Regions from separate parts of the Homo sapiens genome. Here regions 1 and 2 are each linked to region 3. Evidence: promoter capture Hi-C in 16 types of primary human blood cells and fetal thymus (Javierre and others, 2016). All regions are on one chromosome and are shown on one strand. The core of a region is centred on a gene start or on the middle of the fragment in contact, and the rest is flanking DNA. Distances in the headings are between cores, read along the strand shown. Region 1 overlaps LOC100507513 (a long non-coding RNA gene). Region 2 holds the start of RNASE3 (ribonuclease A family member 3). Region 3 holds the start of RNASE1 (ribonuclease A family member 1, pancreatic).

The links. Contacts are between HindIII fragments. The CHiCAGO score rates a contact against its expected background, and 5 or more counts as called.
Region 1: a fragment that was not itself captured here is called in contact with the fragment with the promoter of RNASE1 in region 3 in 1 of 17 cell types (M2 macrophages); the score reaches 5.9 in M2 macrophages.
Region 2: a contact is called between the fragment with the promoter of RNASE3 here and the fragment with the promoter of RNASE1 in region 3, in 7 of 17 cell types (monocytes, total CD4 T cells, naive CD8 T cells and 4 more). The highest score is 11.2, in monocytes.

The regions. Positions count from the first base shown.
Region 1 is chr14:20,870,424-20,875,123 of GRCh38, reverse strand. It overlaps LOC100507513 (a long non-coding RNA gene), which reads left to right. Exons shown (of 4, transcript XR_110261.4): 3 at 288-1,565; 4 at 4,668-4,700. Among named protein-coding and RNA genes, the nearest start is that of RNASE3, 19 kb to the left of the region's middle. RefSeq lists enhancers at 1,073-1,122, 1,233-1,332. The HindIII fragment of the contact is 1,516 bases long and covers 1,339-2,854 here.
Region 2 is chr14:20,888,191-20,892,853 of GRCh38, reverse strand. RNASE3 (ribonuclease A family member 3) reads right to left here and starts at 1,469. Exons shown (of 2, transcript NM_002935.3): 1 at 1,403-1,469; 2 at 506-1,172. The coding sequence starts at 1,167. The coding sequence ends at 685. The region is part of intron 1 of LOC100507513 (a long non-coding RNA gene); the gene reads left to right. The HindIII fragment of the contact is 4,045 bases long and covers 1-1,503 here.
Region 3 is chr14:20,800,052-20,804,256 of GRCh38, reverse strand. RNASE1 (ribonuclease A family member 1, pancreatic) reads left to right here and starts at 1,413. Exons shown (of 2, transcript NM_002933.5): 1 at 1,413-1,460; 2 at 2,164-3,029. The coding sequence starts at 2,189. The coding sequence ends at 2,659. The region is part of intron 3 of LOC105370397 (a long non-coding RNA gene); the gene reads right to left. LOC107984671 (a long non-coding RNA gene) reads left to right here and starts at 3,728. Exons shown (of 3, transcript XR_001750624.2): 1 at 3,728-4,205. The HindIII fragment of the contact is 7,079 bases long and covers 1-4,205 here.

The DNA.
Region 1 (4,700 bases), core at 847-3,346, 70 kb before region 3:
GGTCTGCTTAGGTAAGGAGCAAGAATCACTTTGGGGTTTGGAAATAACCTTGTACATAGGACAATCCCATAAAGGGTTGAGAGGGCGGTAGTCATCTCCGTTATTGACAAGGAGGTGGAAAAAGGATGTGAGAACACTTGTTGCCAAGAGTACACAAAGAATAAGTGTAGAAAAGGCAGGAGGGGAGAACTGGGAACATTAAGTATAGGGCCAAGACTTCTTAGGAACAGGACAAGGGACCGTGGCTTGTTCTTTTGACTCTGCTCTTCTTTGAAATGCTTTCACAGGAAACATGAATCTGATGTGGACCCTCCTCCTTTTCCTCCTTTTGGACGTAACTGTCTTCATTCCAGCCCTGCCCTTCTCAACACGACATTTAGACAACCCCAGGTCGTGGGTCCCTAGAGGACACCACCGATACTGTGATGTGATGATGAGGTGCCGTTGGCTGATCTATAGGGGTAAATGCGAGCAGATCCACACATTCATTCATAGAATCTGACCACCATAGCAGATTTCTGCAGAACTCCACCACTGCCCTGTACCAACAGCCCCTCCATGTGCAGCTGCCACAACAGTACTCATGATGTCAATGTCACTGACTGCTTTGCCAGCACAGGGACCCGACCTCTTCACTGCCACTACCAAAAATAAGAAGGAGTCCACCAGGCCCATGCGAGTGGGCTGCAAGAAGGGGGCATCTGTTCACCTGGATGGCTAGGTTCCTCCTGACAACGGCACCTGAATGACTTGCACCCTACGCCTTCAAATCTGTGCAGCACTGTCAAGGTCTTCTTTGTAAATGCTTCGTCCTTTGCACGCAGGCTCCTGCGTCTTTCTTACAGCCTGTTCCCCACCAACCCCATGTGCCCTACCCCTGCCACAGTGTCAGGGCTTTTGGTGGAGGATAAGGCTGCAGTGGAGGGTTGGTGGGAGGGAGCCTGAATTACGGAAATAATACTCGGGAAAAGACTTGCTCCAACCAAGCTGCTAGACAATCCCCTTCTCCTGGGGCTGATCTTCCCACCAGCTGCTCTCATAAAACCTCCTGATGGCTGGCCCTAGGTTTCCTGGATCATAGGGTCCTTCTGCCTTCTGCGGGACATTCTATGCCTTTCTCCTCAATGGGCTCCTTCGGAGGGTATTAGGGACGATACCCTGGCGGGAAACCGCTTCCTTTAGGGAAACAAATCACTGTGGCTCCAGGGGTGTCACCGGAAAAAGCCGTTTCCGGAGAAGCCGGAGGAGCTTGGGCAACTCCGCAGGCCCAGAGCCTTCGTGGTCTCCCAGTTCCCGTGGCCGTCGTATTGGTCGGCAGGGGGCGCCGCGCCACAAGCTTCCTGCACAAGAGTCCAAAACTTCTTTCTTGGTTTCCTTTGAGACAGGCTGCAGGTTTCTTGGTTGCTGACACGGGTAGACGATAATAGGTGAATAAACAAAATCCAGCCAGCATAAATACAGTCTAACTGTTGAAGAACAGATTTCTGAGTCTACCATAACTTTCATACACTGCAGCACTTTAACGTTGAACCTGCCACCTTCAGATTCACACTGCAGCACCTCAGGTAAGAAGGAAAGGAAGTGAATATGCACTGAGGACCTACTTGTGTTATGAGCTTTACAGTTCAGCTGCGCTGGAGAAGAGTTTATTTCTTTCATGGAATCCATTACATCACCGATCCCCTTCTGAAGGAGGTTATTTTATCCACGAGAGGAAGCATCCAAAGGTGTTCATATTCTCTACCCTGTGACTCCAGCAGAATGGTGACAAGGTTTTGAAGCAAAGGAGGGCACTTGACTCTAGGGCAGCCGTCCATTAACTGACTAGCCCGGTGCCTGTGGAACAGAGTTGCGTGAGGATTTTACCCTTTTGGAATAATCCAGTGACAAAACTGGATACTATTACTTTCATTCCTTCCCCCGATGCCAGGAGGTATAGCTGTTTTGCCTTTGTTCTTGACATTCAGCACTTAGCCTAATGCTCGCTATAAAAGTGCCTTCAAGAAATCTTTAAGGGGCCATTTTGGTAGGTCTGGTTGTTGCTGTGGATCTTTTGTAGATGCCCATTTTTAGATTAGAAAAGTTTCTTCCCTTCTGCTCCTGTTTATGTCTCTTGAATGGATTGGGAATTTCGTTGAATGATGGGATTATACAGCATATTTCTTTAATCAGTTAATGGGGTGAATTAGATTAGTTGATTTTAGAATACTAAACCAACCTTGTATTCCTGGGATAAACCCATTTTGGTTATGTGATATAATCTTTTTTATATATGACTAAATTTAATTTGCTAATATTTTGTTAAATTTTTTTTGCATTTATGTTCACGAATGAGATTGGTCTGTAATTTTTTGTATTGCCTTGTTTAATTTTGGTATCTAGGTTATATGTTAGCTTCCAGAAATGAATTGGGGAGTAGTCCTTCTTTATTTTGTAACTGGAATTATATGTTATTTTAATACTTGGTAGAACTCACATGTAAGGCTGTTTGGTCCTGATATTTTCTTATTTTCTTTGAGACTGCTTTTTCTTTTTTCTTTTCCTTTTTTTTTTTTTTTGGAGATGGGTCTTCCTATGTTGCCCAGGCTAGTGTGCAGTGGCTATTCACAGGTGCAATCACAGAGCATACCTCGAATTACTGGTCTCAACTGATCCTTGAACACTCGGTCTCAGGTGCCTCAAACTCCTGGGCTTGAACTCCTGATCTCGAATAATCCTGCTGCCTCAGCCTCCAGAGTAGCTGGGTCTACAGGTACACACCACCAGGCTTAGCCTCAAACTATTTTAAACTTCTGTTTCAATTTCCTTAATGGTTAAAGAGATGCTAACTTTTCCATTTCTTCTTGAGAAAGCTTTGGTAGATTGTTTTTTCCCACGTAGGAATTTATCCATTTCGTCTAAAGTTCCCAAATATATTAGCACAAAGTTATTCATAATCTGTTTAATATTTATAGCATTGATTTTATGTCCTATTTTTATTCTGACTTTTTTGTACCTTTTTTATTGATAAAACTTTTGAGGTGTGTCTCTCTTATTAGACAGAGATTTTTTCAGACATGCAGAAGCGAGTACTTATAAACTCATGTAGAAACTTTTTTAGAATGGGTCCGTCTTTTTTTTTGAGATTGAGTCTCACTCAGTCACCCAGGCTGGAGTGCAGTGGCACAATCTCGGTTCACTGCAACCTTCGGTTCCTGGGTTCAAGCAACTCTCCTTCCTCAGCCTCCTGAGTAGCTGGGATTACAGGCATGCGCCACCACACCCAGCTAATTTTTGTATTTTTAGTAGAGACAGGGTTTCACCATGTTGGCCAGGCTGGTCTTGAATTCCTTACCTCAGGTGATCTGCCCTCCTCAGCCTCCCAAAGTGCTGGGATTACAGGTGTGAGCCACCGTGCCTGGCCAGGTCCACCTCTTGAGCCACACAGATCTGCTTCCCCAGACAGGTTCAAGAGACAACTCCTCCAGGCTTCCTACCAGTCTCTGTTCCTGAAGGGAAACTTAAGAGGAAGTTTACTGTGGACAAACAAACTGTAGTCACTGTCAATGCCGCAGATCTTGGGGCTGTAACTAGCACCCATCCACTCCTTCCTTTACTATGTATTCTAATCTCCCTTTACCCTTAGGTCTTAGTTGCTTATTCTTATTTACCCTCTCACCAGTTCTGAGGGTTAAGCCCTTGGTAATCATATTTTTCTCAGGCTGAGGTGGCTACACACTTACATTCACAGTTAAAATGGAGCATGGGAGTAACAGAAAGCACCCAAGTAGATTACTTGGGTTCTACATAAATTCTTTTCTGCCTCTATTGGGTAAAAGCAGCCCTACCTCCCTCCTGCTAATCAAGGTTACTTAGCCTTGACAGTATGGCAACTCCTCTTCACGTCTGCTGGTCCCTAGACACGAGAAATCCAAAGTGTCCTGGGAAAAGCTGTAGCTTGCAGTTCAATGAGACCTTTCTGTGTAAGTTGGCAAGGGTGCATCTTCTTTGGGGACCTGGACCTTTGACCCTGCAGAGCCTAGAGTTACAGAAATGAAAGCACAACATATCTGAGTGGGTCAATCAGAGAGATGGTAAGTGGAGCTACTCCTGCTTCTACTTCTCGGTTCCTGGATCCGTGTATTCTTCCTATTGGGAACACAGTACCCTTTACAGGCCTCTGATTTAATAAATACACTGCATCCTGAAGAATGATACCCCATACTTTCATAATGTTACCTCTTAGCTGCTGCTTCAGCTGTGTCTTTGGAAAGTCAGTTTCTCTTCTTTCCTCCCTCCCTCCTTTCTTTCTTCTACCCTCCTTTCTTCTTTTCTCTCTTTTCCGTTCCTTCCTTTCCTCATTTCTCTTTCTCTTTCTTCCTCCCTCCCTCCCTTCCTTTCTTTCCTTGAGCTGAAATGGCTTGCACCTTCCTTTTCCCACATAAACACCAATGGACTCTTCCCATTAGTCCTCTAGTTTCTTCCAGAGGTAGGTGAAATTATTGAAGAGACTTCAGCAGAAATTAGGGAAGATCTTCTGAACTGTGATTAAATGGAGTGTGGTCGTTTACCTAATTATCCTTGGTTATCACCTTCTGTGATTGTGATTTTACTTATTAAGCAGCAGAGCCATCTGGCGAAGACCTGCATTACTTTTTAATCTTATGCTTGCCTTTTGTCTTTCCCAGATTTGATAAATGGTTGGTCCTTATGATCCACTG
Region 2 (4,663 bases), core at 220-2,719, 89 kb before region 3:
TCTACTTTCTTCTTTTCTATTTTCTATCATAACGTTCAATTCTATCAAAATTTATCATTCATAAATCATAATGAAGCACGTGCATTTTCAGCTGATTCACTGCAGCTCTTTTTTTCTTGGGATAGAAATCATGTCAATAAAAACCATAGTCGGACCATAAAGCATCAAATGGGACCTCAATATCAAATTGGGCTCAATTCTGGAATACAACTAAAACAAGTGGAGATCTATACACAAGTTATAGGTTGGTGTTGGGGGAGGAGTCAGTGGATGGAAAATTGCTTAGAGGAGATATTAAGGCTAGGGAGACCAATGCTAAGTTGACTCAATTGGATTTTTTTTTAAGGCAGGCCTGGAATCAGGTATCACATGAAGGATGATGGGGGAATTAAGGAATTTGGTCAGATATTGAGGGGGAGAGATTCATGATAAACCCAAATCTCTAGAGCAGATTGTCACTAAATGACAGCAGAGCGGCCGAGGAAGACACACAGACACTTCCAGATGAATTTGCAAAGCAGTTTATTGCAGGGTTCACAAGGGACTTCAGCTCAGGAAAGCTGAAGGGGTATGGAGACTGATGAGGACAGTTGCTGATACCCAGAGTACATGGAGGGATGGGATCTTGGCTATGATTGAGGAGCTTGGCAGATGAGTGATGATGAGGACTGCTGATACAGGAGCTTAGATGGTGGTATCCAGGTGAACTGGAACCACAGGATACCGTGGAGAATCCCGTGGATCTCTGTTGTCACATGCAACTACATAGAACCTCCTTCCTGGTCTGTCTGCATACGTGCAGTTTGAAATATTCTGTGCACCTGGATTTATGAGGTCACAGTGGAGTAAAGGCACCCGGAATCTACTCCGATGACAATTGTTGAGAGTTCTGTTATGAGGGCAGCGTATACTTTGGTTACCACAAACATTAACTACATTAGCAAAAGTTGTACGAAGAAAAGTATTTTGGTTTTTGCAACGCCATCGATAATTGTTAATTGCCCGCATTGCAATGGTGCATCGAGGGGGGTTCAGACTGATGTGCTGGATGGCAAACCACTGAGCCCTCGTAAACTGTGGGGGTCTGGCATGGAGTGAGCCCTCCACACCCATAAGCCCCAACAGAAGAAGCAGACAAATTTGGGAAGTGAACAGTTTTGGAACCATGTTTCCTGTAAGAAAAGAAGAGAAGTAACTACTCCCCGATCCGGTCTCGGTTATGACACACTCTATAGTGTCTCAACCCACAGGCCCCTCTGCTGCCACTCTGGGGTCGCATTTCCTTTTCTTCCTGTCCCCAAAGTGTGCCACATCTCCTAAGCACTAACTTCAGCTCACCTCTCCCTCAGGTGCTGCCCTGTCGCTGCCCCTCCTGTCCCAGCTCTGGGGATTGTTGACTTACCCAGTCTCTGAGCTGTGGCTCCTGTGAGAACTGATCCAGCTGGTTGTTCTGGGGTTCAGGGGCAGCTGGTCTCCCCTACTTGGAACTGTTTAAATAAAGCTTCCCTTGGTGGGTCTGGCCATGCAGAAACCCACAGATTGACACATGGTCCACTTGTGCAATCATCCTTTTTATTTGATGACTTGGCTGAGCAACGGATACCCAAGGACAGCCCTGCTGCTCTTTCTGCTATACGGACTCTAATTCCAAGTCATCCTGTGTTAGACAGAGTTTTGCCGGTGGGATCTGGACTCTGGGTGAAAACTATACGCTGCCGGCAGAATGACCACAGATTTTATAACTGTCCTCTGGCAGGCCCCTAAATGACTAAATGACACGAAGGCAGGCATAGTAGTTAGGAGAAATAGAGCCACAGAGGGCTGTTTGCCCAGGAGAAACCCAGCTTCCCTTCCATTTTTAGTAATATCCTTGGTTCTCTCTCACATAAATGCTCTCCATCTCATCCACCACTCTTGCTGGAAACTTGAGCTATTAATTTCTTGGGGCACAAGATTCTGTAGATAATTAAAACAATCTGCTCCATACAATTGAGGAATTTTTTTCTTTACTCCTCTTGCATTGGATCCACTTTCTCTTAAGTCTTGCCCTGATTATTGATTCCACTTTGTGTAAAGTTACATAACCTAAAAACACACCGAGGACAGTTGTAAAATCTGGCAGAGGATGAATGAACATTTGGTGTCATGAAAGATTCCAACCTAGCACTCGGTATTCCTGTGATCTTTTCAGCCTATGGTATTTTCTACAAAACAGTGTGTTCTGGGGTTGTCATTCATCTTCCTGGTAAGTTTCATTTTGTGATATTAACAAGAATATGGTTCTGTATTTACAAATGAACATTTAAGGACAGAGCACTGTATTCCTGAAAGTATAGAGGTCAAGTGTACAGTTTGATACACAAAGCATACATTTATTCTTGGCCCTCAGAGAAACACAGGAAAGTACTTGTAGACATATAATTGTATTACAGTGTGATAGAGGTAATAGCATTTGTGTGAACATGGTGTCATAGGGACACTGCTGGTGAAGGAAATCACTTGGCTTGAGAAATAAGGAAAACTTCAAAAAAAAGTTTATTTCAGCAGGTCCTAAAGGATAAGCAGGGGATTTTCAGGGGATTTAGAGAAGAGATGAGCATTCTGGGCACAGGGGATGATGTGGGGAAATTGTACAGAGGTGAGAAGTGAATTGCAAAGGTAAGGCCTGGGTACTAACAGATGTTAAATCTGGTCTAGCTTTGAGATTAGAAAATGGAAAGTAGACCCTTAAATGATATAATATACCTTCCAACAGTTAATCTGCCTAATTTTTACTACCGTCCAATTTTCCTGTCATTTAGAAATGCAATAATTTTATCACTGGGGTCCTTAGGTAAATGTGGACACAATGGTGACCTGGTGAGGACTCAATGCGCAGCTAATATTGCTCTGCCTTGAAGTCCTGTTCTGGCCGACATTCATTAGCAGCTTTATCATGAGGCAAGTTTATTTTTTCATGTATATTGTGTGGAGATCATTTTTGTAGGTGATGAGAATGTAAAGGTGAATGATACGTAGAGTATCCCCTCTGTGATGCTGACAGCCACACTGGCTAGAAACATTTGCACTTAAGTGTCTATAGTATGAGGCAAAAGACATAGACTGCAGCCCCAGGGCAGGTACTTGGCTAAACAGTGCTTCTTTTCAGCATACACAGTGCTATTTATGATGTTTGGTTTGGAAGATAAAGTTTGACATTGGAATAGTTCACTAAAAGTTTTCATTACTGTCTTATCTTTAAAAATCACATGATGGTGGTTGGTGCACCATTGGTGTTGTATCAATTAGAGCTGAGTAACAGCTGCGTCTGTGGAAGGGGCTCTAGCTCAGGGCTGTTCTCTGACTCCACTCTCCCTCCTGACTTTTATCCTATCTGTTCAGTGATGACACCTGCCTGGCTCCTGAAGACATCTGTGCTTATGACATATCAGACTTATTGAAGTGTCTTAAGCAGACCATAACCTGCCCAATTTGCAACCATATTCATCCTTTAAAATTGTGGAGTTTTTTGTTTTTTGTTTTTTTTTGAGACGGAGTCTTGCTCTTGTCACCCAGGCTGGACTGCAGTGGCGTGATCTCACTGCAACCTCCACCTCCGCCTCCCAAGTTCAAGTGATTCTCCTGCCTCAGCCTCCTGAGTAGCTGGGATTACAGGCGCTCGACACAATGCCCGCCTAATTTTTGTATTTTTAGTAGAGACGGGGTTTCACCATGTTGGCCAGGCTGGTCTCAAACTCCTGACCTCAGGTAATGCGCCCACCTCGGCCTTCCAAAGTGATGGGATTACAAGTATGAGCCACTGCTCCCAGCCATAAAAATTGCATTCAGAACATGCTCATAAGGTTTTTCTGATTGTCCCTTGTGTAGATTTCCTGCGTACATTTCCAACTACCTTCATTTGCCAGCAGAAGTAGTACAAATGATCTACTTTGATATTTATGACCTTTGAGAGAAGATGTTTTATATGAAGCAGGAATAAAGTATAAGTCAACATTAAAGAAAATTATCTGTTATGATCTCTGTAATCGAAACAAAATTCTCTGTAACTTCAGCATGATTTTGTCTTGAACAGACACAAGGCACTTCACCCGGGCTCTTTATTTTATTAGCATAACTTGTCTTGCAGCCTAATTTAACGACACATTTTCAGACCTGATCCACACTTCCAATGAGAGGAATAGTCAGAATTACGCCCTAGTGTTAAGTCATTTTTTGGAAACCGATGAACATTGTAAAATATTATCCCAGACAAAGACTTCTGCATTTGTGGTAAAAACCACTGTTGAGTACACTGCATTGATCAATGTCTTTTTTGCATAGCATTTATGTGCAAAAATATAATGTTCAATGCTTGCAATTTCTTCAGCCCCAGGGTACCCTTGCAATATTTGCTCTTAACCTGCTGACAGGGAGGTACCAAACCATCGATACCTTCCTGCACACAGATTTCCCTAATGCAGCAGTGGCTATCTATGGGAAAGACAATGCACACTATTTACTAGGTTGGTGCAAAAGTAATTGCGATTTTTGCCATTAAAAGTAATACAAGATTGTCATAATAATATGGTGCAGGTTAATTAAATTGCAGCAAATGGAGTAATATTTTACTTACCTAAGTTCTAAAGATAGTTGGTGTACTGAGCTCTTCCTGGTCTCTTGAACC
Region 3 (4,205 bases), core at 164-2,663:
ATTCTAACTTGACTATTCAAGAGAATAAAAGTATTATTAAAGACTCAGAAAAATAAAATACAGGTGGGGGCTGGGGGAGTAAGGAAACTGTAGGGGCCAAGGAAAAATTCCCCTTTCACCCTCCAAAGGTTTGCTGAAAATCAACTGACAAAAGACAGATTGATAGGAAAAAACGCATACAAATTGATTTGATCGTAGTTTTACACGACACGGGAGCCTTCAGAAGACCCAAAGATAACAGGGGAAAGTGGGCATTCTTACACTTGGATATCAACAAAGTATGAACAGCTGTGTAGAAATATGACTGGACAACAGGGCGATCTAATGAAAATAGACTGAGTGGGGAAACCCAGCAAGGCCTCCCTGTCTAGATTCTTCTTGGCCTCTCTGAGCATTCGTCCTTTTTTTCTGGGTATGGGGGGCAGGACCCTCTCTGGAATGAGGATCTTACGACCTACAATCACACAAGGTAGGTCAGATAATTTCACTATGGCCACTTTTTACACAGAAAGGCTGAAACAATCTGAATACACAGCACGAAGGGATATTTTGATAATTCTTAGAGGTATCCAAATTGTTACTCAGCAAAAAAACAGGTCTCTTTCTAGGAGGGCATTCTGCTGCTAATAAATATGATATTCTTTGTATTTTTTCCCCAAAAAGAATTTGAGATTTGGGATTTAAGTTTATCTTTAGTTCCTCTACTCAATTCCGACCTACAGGGTCAGTGGTTACTGTAGATAAGAACAGCCCCATCCTCTCGATGCCCCCAGAGCAGGGGTGGAGGGTGGGTGGGAAGTGGCCAGAACTGGGTGAGCGCACCCTAGAGGCCTCCTCCTCCTCCCTATTCAGTTACTCCCCCTTTCTTCTCCAGATCTGGGAAGCCTTCCAGCTGGGGGCAGCAGGACAGCCTCCATTCCCCCCGACCCCGCCTCCCATCCCCGGGAGAGGTAGCGTTGGGAGAATGCCCTCCTAGAAAGAGACTTGGGTTTTGCTCCCTAGGAGCCCTGGAATAGCTTTGGCCAGAATTCCCTATCTCCCATTAGAACCTCTCCTTTGCGTCCTTTGTTAACCTCCAAGTCTACTTGGTGAAAACGCCCACGAAGAAGTAACAAGGACTTTGTTCCTAGTGTGCCAGGTTTGGGCACCAGTGCTGTAGTGGCTTTCTCTGCTGCTCCTTGTGCATCAGCAGACAGATGTGGTTCACATAGGAAGAAAGACTAACGTAGGCAAAGATTTGCTCTTTCTTCAGCAGCCCTAGAAAGACGGCGGCCTGGGTGATTCACCACTCCTTCCTCACGTCCTTGATTTTATTTGAACTGAGCTCCAGATGCTCCTCCCACCCTTTTCCTCTTGGAAGCCAAACCCCTTTGTAATCTGTATAAGGTCCACACCCCGGGAGCTGAGTGATTGCAGAAACTGGCCTTCCATCTCTCTCAGACACCAAGCTGCAGATCCAGGTAAGCAGCCCAAGAGGTGTTCTCAGGTGCCGCTTCTGCTTCAGGGTTGCAGAAGAGGGAGCTAGGGCCAGTCCACAGCACTGAGAAAGATTGGGTGATGCTAGCGCTGAAAAAATGTGGCCCAGGCAAACATCAGCTGGGGGCAGAGGGGTCAGGGTGGAACGTGCAGGCTGCAGAGCATCCATGGGACTGGAGAAGAAGGAGCCTCCAAATTGGGGGAGGCCAGCGTTTCTCTCTGGAATACAATGGAATCTTTTATGATGCCAGTGTCAGGCACTGGCCTGAGTTCCCTTATGCTCCAAGACAACAAGGCTCTGTCACCCATGGCCCTGGATGTCGGGGATACAATTTGGTTCATGATTTATTCAAACTGATGTTTCGATGAGCCATTTGAGCACTGGGTACAAATGTATTTTGGATCAAAGAAACTCCAGTATTCAAAGATAGGAACTGACAGGATTTTAGGTCACTTTGTAGGTCACCACCTAGAGGGGAGGAAGACCTCGCTTTGGAGAGTGGGAATAAAACGCTCGTGGAAAAGGGTACACGTGAGTGTCTCATTACACGAAAAACCTCAGGAAGTAGGATGGACGTCTTTCTGGCTGACCTGAAACAGAAAGTGTAAACCAGGCAAGCCATAGGTGGGAGCTGGAGTTCTTTTTCTAAGAGGGCTCTTTTCCTTCTCTCTCCTTTTCTCAATTAGGCTTTTCTGGGAAAGTGAGGCCACCATGGCTCTGGAGAAGTCTCTTGTCCGGCTCCTTCTGCTTGTCCTGATACTGCTGGTGCTGGGCTGGGTCCAGCCTTCCCTGGGCAAGGAATCCCGGGCCAAGAAATTCCAGCGGCAGCATATGGACTCAGACAGTTCCCCCAGCAGCAGCTCCACCTACTGTAACCAAATGATGAGGCGCCGGAATATGACACAGGGGCGGTGCAAACCAGTGAACACCTTTGTGCACGAGCCCCTGGTAGATGTCCAGAATGTCTGTTTCCAGGAAAAGGTCACCTGCAAGAACGGGCAGGGCAACTGCTACAAGAGCAACTCCAGCATGCACATCACAGACTGCCGCCTGACAAACGGCTCCAGGTACCCCAACTGTGCATACCGGACCAGCCCGAAGGAGAGACACATCATTGTGGCCTGTGAAGGGAGCCCATATGTGCCAGTCCACTTTGATGCTTCTGTGGAGGACTCTACCTAAGGTCAGAGCAGCGAGATACCCCACCTCCCTCAACCTCATCCTCTCCACAGCTGCCTCTTCCCTCTTCCTTCCCTGCTGTGAAAGAAGTAACTACAGTTAGGGCTCCTATTCAACACACACATGCTTCCCTTTCCTGAGTCCCATCCCTGCGTGATTTTGGGGGTGAAGAGTGGGTTGTGAGGTGGGCCCCATGTTAACCCCTCCACTCTTTCTTTCAATAAAACGCAGTTGCAAACACCTGATTTCTGAAGCGGTTCTGTCTAGGTACTGTTTCTGGCATTGCCTTCCAGCAAGGGGTAAGAACTGTAAATCTGATTCACTTTGGAGAACGGTGAATGGAGTAATTAAATGCCTTCCCTTCTGACTTGGATTTTAGTGGCTTGAGAAAATTCCTTTCCTTGTAGATTCCCTGATGCCAAACATAAAACTGTTAAGTGTGGGCTGTTTTAGACAAAAGGGAGCTACAGCCTGGGACACTGCCATGCAGGGTGAACTGACAGAGGGGTGAAGCTCAAATACAATCATTCTCTGGCACAGAAGGAAGGCAAGTGTGACCTCAGGAAGATCCTGCTTAGCCTCAGGGTGGGGAAGAGGACTCAATGAAATTATGATCCTAAATTTCCATTTTCCTTTTTTTTTTTTGAGTGAGCTATTACTAAATCAGAAAAATGGGCACCTCTTAGTTGGAAAGCCAGAACCTTACATTTTAGAGCCAGAAGTGACTTTGGAGAGCACGGAATTGAGGGATAGCAAGTAGATTTCAGTTTGTGTACCAACTCTAATTGGAAGTGCCGGTCGGGCGTGGTGGCTCACACCTATAATTCCAGCACTTTGGGAGGTTGAGGCAGGTGGATCACCTGAGGTCAGGAGTTCAAGACCAGCCTGACCAGTATGGTGAAACCCCCTCTCTACTAAAAATACAAAAAGTAGTGGGGCGTGGTGGCAGGTGCCTGTAATCCAGCTACTAGGGAGGCTGAGGCAGGAGAATCACTTGAACCTGGGAGGCGGAGGTTGCAGTGAGCTGAGATGGTGCCACTTCACTCCAGCCTGGGCAATAAGAGTGAAACTCTGTTTCAAAAAAAAAAAAAAGGAAGTGCCTACCCAAAATGCTGTAGCAAAAAATTCTGGACAGTGGTGTGGTTGAACAACAGCCTCTATCGAAGGCACGAGAGGGGGAAGGGTGTGTGTGCCACACATTTGCCATCCCTGACCAAATGTGACCCCTGCCTTTCCGGTGACTTGCACATGGCTTGTTGCTAGTTAGTGGCACAGCCGGGACTACACCCTAGGTTTCCTGACTTCCAAGCCATTGTTCTAACTCAGGAAGCCATTGCTCTAACTCAGGAAGAAAGCTCCCCTCCTCAGTAAGTGCTGTGGAGCGGTAGCTCTCTCCCAGAGCTTGCTGGTGGGCTCTCACAGGCTCCCAGTGTTCTTAGCCTGTGAGTCCACTCCACTCTTGGCAACCCTTCCTGACAGCCACTGAAAGACTACCTTTGGCATCTGTCAACACTTAACCTGGGAGGCAGAGGTTGCAGTGAGCCGACAT